2 separate regions of the Homo sapiens genome follow, and region 1 is linked to region 2. Evidence: promoter capture Hi-C in 16 types of primary human blood cells and fetal thymus (Javierre and others, 2016). All regions are on one chromosome and are shown on one strand. The core of a region is centred on a gene start or on the middle of the fragment in contact, and the rest is flanking DNA. Distances in the headings are between cores, read along the strand shown. Region 1 overlaps SETD7 (SET domain containing 7, histone lysine methyltransferase). Region 2 holds the start of MGARP (mitochondria localized glutamic acid rich protein).

Region 1 (2,782 bases), core at 270-2,769, 270 kb before region 2:
TGGCTTTTTTTAATGAAAAGAAAAAAGCAAATTTAATTTATTTCAATGAGAGAAATGGCATCAGATATTTAGAAAATAATTGTCCAAGTGATTTCATATGACTCAAATGTCATTGAATTTATGTCATGTACAATTAGTTTTTGAGCGAGAAGAAAGCAATTATGGCCTAGTTCCCTTCTGACCATTAATTTCCTGGGCCTTTCCTCTTTTGTGTTAAGAGGAAGGGATCCATATTGATTATGATTTATTTAAGTAGATGTGTCTTATTGTAAGATGTTCTAGGTAACCCATTGTATACAGAGTCAGATGTAGCAATAAAACACTGTAGTTGTTTGCAGCTATTTTATGTTTATGTAATTAATGATACAAATAAAGAGCATATTTATTCTTTTTATTGTTGTTGTTGAGATGGAGTTTCATTCTTGTTGCCCACGCTGGAGTGCAGTGGCACAATTTTGGCTCACTGCAACCTCTGCTTCCTGGGTTCAAGCGATTCTCCTGCCTCAGCCTCCTGAGTAGCTGGGATTACAGACGTCCGCCACCATGCCTGGCTAATTTTTTGTATTTTTAGTAAAGACGGGGTTTCACTGTGTTGGCCAGGCTGGTCTCAAACTCTGGACCTAGGGTGATCCACCCACCTCAGCCTCCCAAAGTGCTGGGATTATAGGCGTGAGCCACCATGCCCGGCCGCATATTTATTCTTTATAAGAGTGTGTACTTACCATCTTTTCCAAGGGCTAATATTCTTTTATCATGTTAGAATAAATTATTTGAGGAGACTAAAGCTTTCACTGTGGTAGTATGGTTTGTGTTGCCTTTTATGTCTGTGAGCCATCTGGAAGCTACATTTCAATGTTTAATGTCCCTGCATTAGACACAGTGTTTAATGTTTTCATACCTTTTCTCTCCATGACCCAGGTTATTACCCCAAGAAAAAGCCAGTAGAATAACTACTGCCTTCATTTTCACCCACCTCTGCAAAATCAGCTCACCAGAATGATTGGGAAGACACCAATAAGGTGATTCCTGGGTTTTGTAAAACATGTAGATAGTAATAAAAAGCATAAACATTGACTGTAAATGTCAGTATTAAACTATACCAATCTTTGACCTAGGAATAACCAGTGACTTAAAAGTCCATGTAATAACTTCTGCTGATGTTCACAATCATTGCTTAAATGACCATGTGCATACTCTGGCTCCATTTAAAACACAAGCCCTCTGAGACACAGTGGTGGACGGTATAGGATAAGGTTATTACTAAACATTCAAAGCTGAAAGATTTTGTAAAGTAAACCAGTAGGTTTAAGGTTAAGCTTAAGTTTAAGGTGAGAAGGACTCTGGGTTTCTGTGTTTGTACAATGAGCTATATAAATCTTAGGGCAGTTTTAAAGATATGACACTGTTCCTTGTGTGAATATAACAATAACAGTGAGATTTTCAGACTGGCTAGCAGTCCTCCACATCATATTATAGAATGATGTATAAAATCATATTGCATACTTAATGTTCTAGAATTAGATAATTTATTCCAAAGACTGTGTATGTGGCAATTGACTATAAAACAGTGGAATCTCAACCACACTTCAGTTAAGCATGAGAGATTGGAGGCATCAATTCCAAATATGAGGACTCTCGGGAGAGTACTTGGTAAATTGTGACATGCCCTGCAGATAATATTACTGATAATGACTCTCAGTTCCAGGTAAAAAGCAAGCTTATTTAAAGTTCATATTCTGGAATGTGTCTAAGTCTGTTCTGGACCTATCAGTTCACAAAGTGTACATAACAATCAATTTGGTACTGCTGGTGCCGATGAGGTGAGAAACTTTTGCACGCTGACTACCCTTTCTTTCCAGGGAGGGGACCCTTTGGCAGCTGGAGGGGAGTTGGGTGGGGGACTTGTCTGGCAGCATCTGAATGCTTAGACGTCAGATGGGAGGAGCACTGAAGATGTTAAGGTTTGCCTTGTGGTTCCCTTTCTCCAGGGCACCTGGACGATGACGGATTACCGCACGGGTTCTGCACAGTCACCTACTCCTCCACAGACAGATTTGAGGGGAACTTTGTTCACGGAGAAAAGAACGGACGGGGGAAGTTCTTCTTCTTTGATGGCAGGTAGCACTCACAGTTTTATTTTGTTCTTTGGGGGTACCGAATTATTTTATGTTAAGGACTAATACAAACGAAAGAATTCAAGTGGAAGTTTTTCTACAATTTATTCAATGGGTAAAATTAACCCCTACCTGTAGGCACTGCTTTGGTGACTGGGGAAGTCACCCTGTGGTTATGGGACAGCCAGCCTAAGGCTTAGCTCTTGTCATCACTGTCTCCCAGAGTGTGCTTGGCCAAAAGATACCAGATTTGGGGGCCCCCATCTTGCATAAGTTGGTTACATGGTCACCCAATTCTTTGATGGATTTCACTTGATCATTCCGGTAGCGCATCTCCCTGAAGTCACACAAGTGGGGATCGTTTTTGTCAGTGGCCAGTTTGCACAGTTCCAGTAAAGTCAGATTCACACTTTTTTCCAAGGGTCACACACACTCTATTGCGTTCAGCACACTCTCCCAGATGTCACAATCTGGCATCTTAGTACCCCGAAGCAAGATTCTGCCACCTTGTTGGTTCTTCTGCTTCATCGGTTTCTCAGCTTGTTGCCTCTCCTCATGAGATTGATGAAAAAATGCTTGGCAAAGTTCTTCAAAGCCACATCATTGCAGTCCCAGTAATAAGACATAAACAGGTACACACAGGAGGGCAACTCTCTAGACTTCAATTT
Region 2 (3,076 bases), core at 159-2,658:
CATTGGCTTGTACTCTTCTTATGAGAATATGTTAAATATAATTATAATTAGGTTCAGGACTATAACTTCTGAGAAACGTCTATTTACATAGCAAATGAACAAATATTGTGCCTGTTACATGCCAATAGAACTTTAAGCTAGAAGTATTATGTTCATGTCCTTTTTGTTTTTTAATTCATGACCACCAGTAAATCCCTGGACATTCCCACCCACCACCTGGTGGTGGCATTTGCTAAAGGGAATAATTGCCACCTCCCTCAGAGGGTTGCAGTGAAAATTAAAAGAGATAATAGATGTGAAAGTGCTTTATAATCTTTCAAGTGCCAAACACACATAAGGGATTATTATAGTAGGAAATGGTGTCTTCCAAAGAGTAATCATTTAGACAATGTTATAAACGTAATAAATTATTGGTTTCCATATTCAAACCATGACAAGTTCTTGTAGCCACGATGAGACGGAAAACTAATAATTTAGTATTTTTAGTTGATGTGTTTTTTTGTTTTGTTTGTTTTGTTTTGTTTTTGGGGTTTTTGTTTTGTTTTGTTTTGCTTTTGAGACAGGGTCTTGCTCTGTCACCCAGGCTTGAATGTAGTGGCATGATCTCGGCTCACTGCGACCTCCGCCTCCCGGGTTCAAGCGATTCTCCTGCCTTAGCGTCCCGAGTAGCTGGGATTACAGGCCCGCGCCACCACTCCCGGCTAATTTTTTGTATTTTTAGTAGAAACGGGGTTTCACCATGTTGCCCAGGCTGCTCTCCAACTCCTGACCTCAAGTGATCCGCCTGCCTCGGCCTCCCAAAGTGCTGGGATTATAAACGTGAGCCACTGTGCCCGGCCGCTGATGTGGAAATATTAATTTCACATCCCATAGAGGAATATACAGTGTTTTTGATATTTTAAAGTCGTTTTAACAGTGAGCTGTCTAGAAATTCAACCATTGTCTGCAGATTTTCTTACGATTCTGAGCATCACCCAGTGCGCTAATGGAAGGCTGAGGCTACCCCTTCGCTCTTCTCATTTTTAAGAAACTTCCAGCTATCCTTCCCTCTCCTAGGAAAGCTAACGGAATGCAGGAGATAAAATGGTTTCAGATTACATCCAGCGTGATAAACTGTGTCCTTGTCTTAATCTCGTCCAATTCCCAAAACATTTCCAGCTTGCTGTGAGGAGTTACATTCAGTGGTACAGAATGAGCCAGGCAGGCGACGGCGACTTGTAGGTTCCCCATCCCTTTTCTGAGATGCCGCGGTCAGCTCTAGAGACCTCAGGGATAGCAACAGAGCTGGAGATGGGTTAGGGGAGGATGGTGAGGACTACAAAGGTCTCCCCACCTCCCGGGGGCCGCGGAGGCGGGGCTGGATGAAGGTCGACGTGCCTCCTCCGGGCGGGGCGCTGCCAGGCTCTCAGCCTCTCTGTGGAAGGGCAGCCTGCGCCTGGGTACCGAGGCTGCTGCGCGGCGGACAGCGGGCGCGATGTATCTCCGCAGGGCGGTCTCCAAGACTCTGGCGCTGCCGCTGAGGGCGCCCCCCAACCCCGCGCCGCTCGGAAAGGACGGTGAGTAAGGAGGTCTAGCCCGGAGAGGAGGACGGGCGCCTCGGGTGCAGATTTCGCCCGCGCCAGGGAACCGGCCGGCACCCAGTTGGCCAAACCCGACCCAGAGCAGCAGAAGCCTGGATTGGAGGTCGAGGAGACTGGGGGAGACTCCCGGGAAGACGTCCCGAAGCTCCTGCAGACTTTGGAAGTAGGGAACTTTTCCAGGGTGCCTCAGAGTCCAGATTATCTGGGTTCGCATCCTGATCTTGGACAAATGGCTTAACCTGTTTCCTCATCTATAAAATGAGGGCGATGATGGTTTTCCTTTTTAATGAGTTAATGTATGGTTAAAAGCACTTAAAAACGTGCCTGGCTGACAAAGTCGCAGCTTACCACTTTTATTGTTAGAGGCACCATTCGCTCTCCAATCTCCTGAGGAAGCAGAGGAACGGTGGGAAGGTGGACGCCGATCAGCGAGCGGGCCCGGCAAGCGCTGGGAGGCAGTGAGGCAGGGCCCGCTCAGTGGACGCTGGGCGAATGTTCGTGGGGTAAATAAACCTAACCCTTGGCAGGGTCTCAGCAGCCTGAACCCCGCGAGCGCCTGGCTCTGAGATCCACAACCCCCAAAAAGGAAGCGGCCTTCGGGACACTTTCCTTTGAGGTTGCACGTCGTCCTGCAACTGCTTGGCTCTGTAGTCCAAATATCGACACCTTTGGTTCTGAGGATACGCGAGAAAAAGCAGAATACTCAGCAATTAACTAAAGGGGGAGTTGCAGTGTGAACTGGAGGCTTATTAAATAAAAACGGACATATAGGAAAGCGCTTCGTATAGTGCTGGGAACATAGTAGGTGCTTAATAGGTGTGAGCAAGGAAGATTGTTTTTCTTCTGGGACCAGGCTTGCGCTCCAGGGCGGTTCTGCCCCAGCCGCTTTTCCCTAGTCCCCATCCGTCACCCCTCTCTCTTCCACTCACGACTGGGGGACGGCTCTTAGACAATATCGTGAAGGGTTCTTAATGCTCTCTTCACTTAGCCTCACTTTCTGAGCCTTCCGAGATAATTTTACCCCAGAGGGTGGATTCCAGCAGGAGAGAAAGATGTGCGCGGAGAATTCCATGGGCCGATTTTTTTTTCACGTTGATTAGGCCTCTGTTGGTGGTGGTGGGAGGGAAGGACGGAGGTCTAACTAACTCGCTTTATTTTTCTTGTAAAATGCTGGTGGAAGGAAGTTATCCCTCAAGTATCAGAAATAAGACATCTTCGTTTTCCTAGATCTTTATTGCCTTTATTTTTCTAGATCTTTATACCAAATGATATAGAGCTTTTAAATATATATATACACTGATGAAGTAGGGAGAAGCCATTTATTTTAAACTTCGGAAGATAACGGGACTGTTCTGTTGAGAACGGGGAGAAAGATTAGTCCTCTGACCGTGGCCTTTCGTTTTATCTGTCTGCGTTCCCCACCGACATCATGCGCGCGTGCACGCACACACAAACACACACACACACACGCGCACCTTTTTTTTGTAGCTGCAGAA

What was found. The method cuts DNA at HindIII sites, captures the fragments that hold promoters and counts their contacts. A CHiCAGO score of 5 or more calls a contact.
Region 1: a contact is called between a fragment that was not itself captured here and the fragment with the promoter of MGARP in region 2, in 2 of 17 cell types (activated CD4 T cells and total CD8 T cells). The highest score is 6.2, in activated CD4 T cells.

What each region holds. Positions count from the first base shown.
Region 1 is chr4:139,546,256-139,549,037 of GRCh38, reverse strand. It overlaps SETD7 (SET domain containing 7, histone lysine methyltransferase), which reads left to right. Exons shown (of 8, transcript NM_030648.4): 2 at 1,989-2,118. It also overlaps the pseudogene FTH1P24. Among named protein-coding and RNA genes, the nearest start is that of SETD7, 8.6 kb to the left of the region's middle. RefSeq lists a silencer at 587-773. The HindIII fragment of the contact is 401 bases long and covers 1,319-1,719 here.
Region 2 is chr4:139,278,557-139,281,632 of GRCh38, reverse strand. It overlaps MGARP (mitochondria localized glutamic acid rich protein), which reads left to right and starts at 1,408. Exons shown (of 4, transcript NM_032623.4): 1 at 1,408-1,556. The coding sequence starts at 1,475. RefSeq lists an enhancer at 1,444-1,653. The HindIII fragment of the contact is 26,288 bases long and covers 1-3,076 here.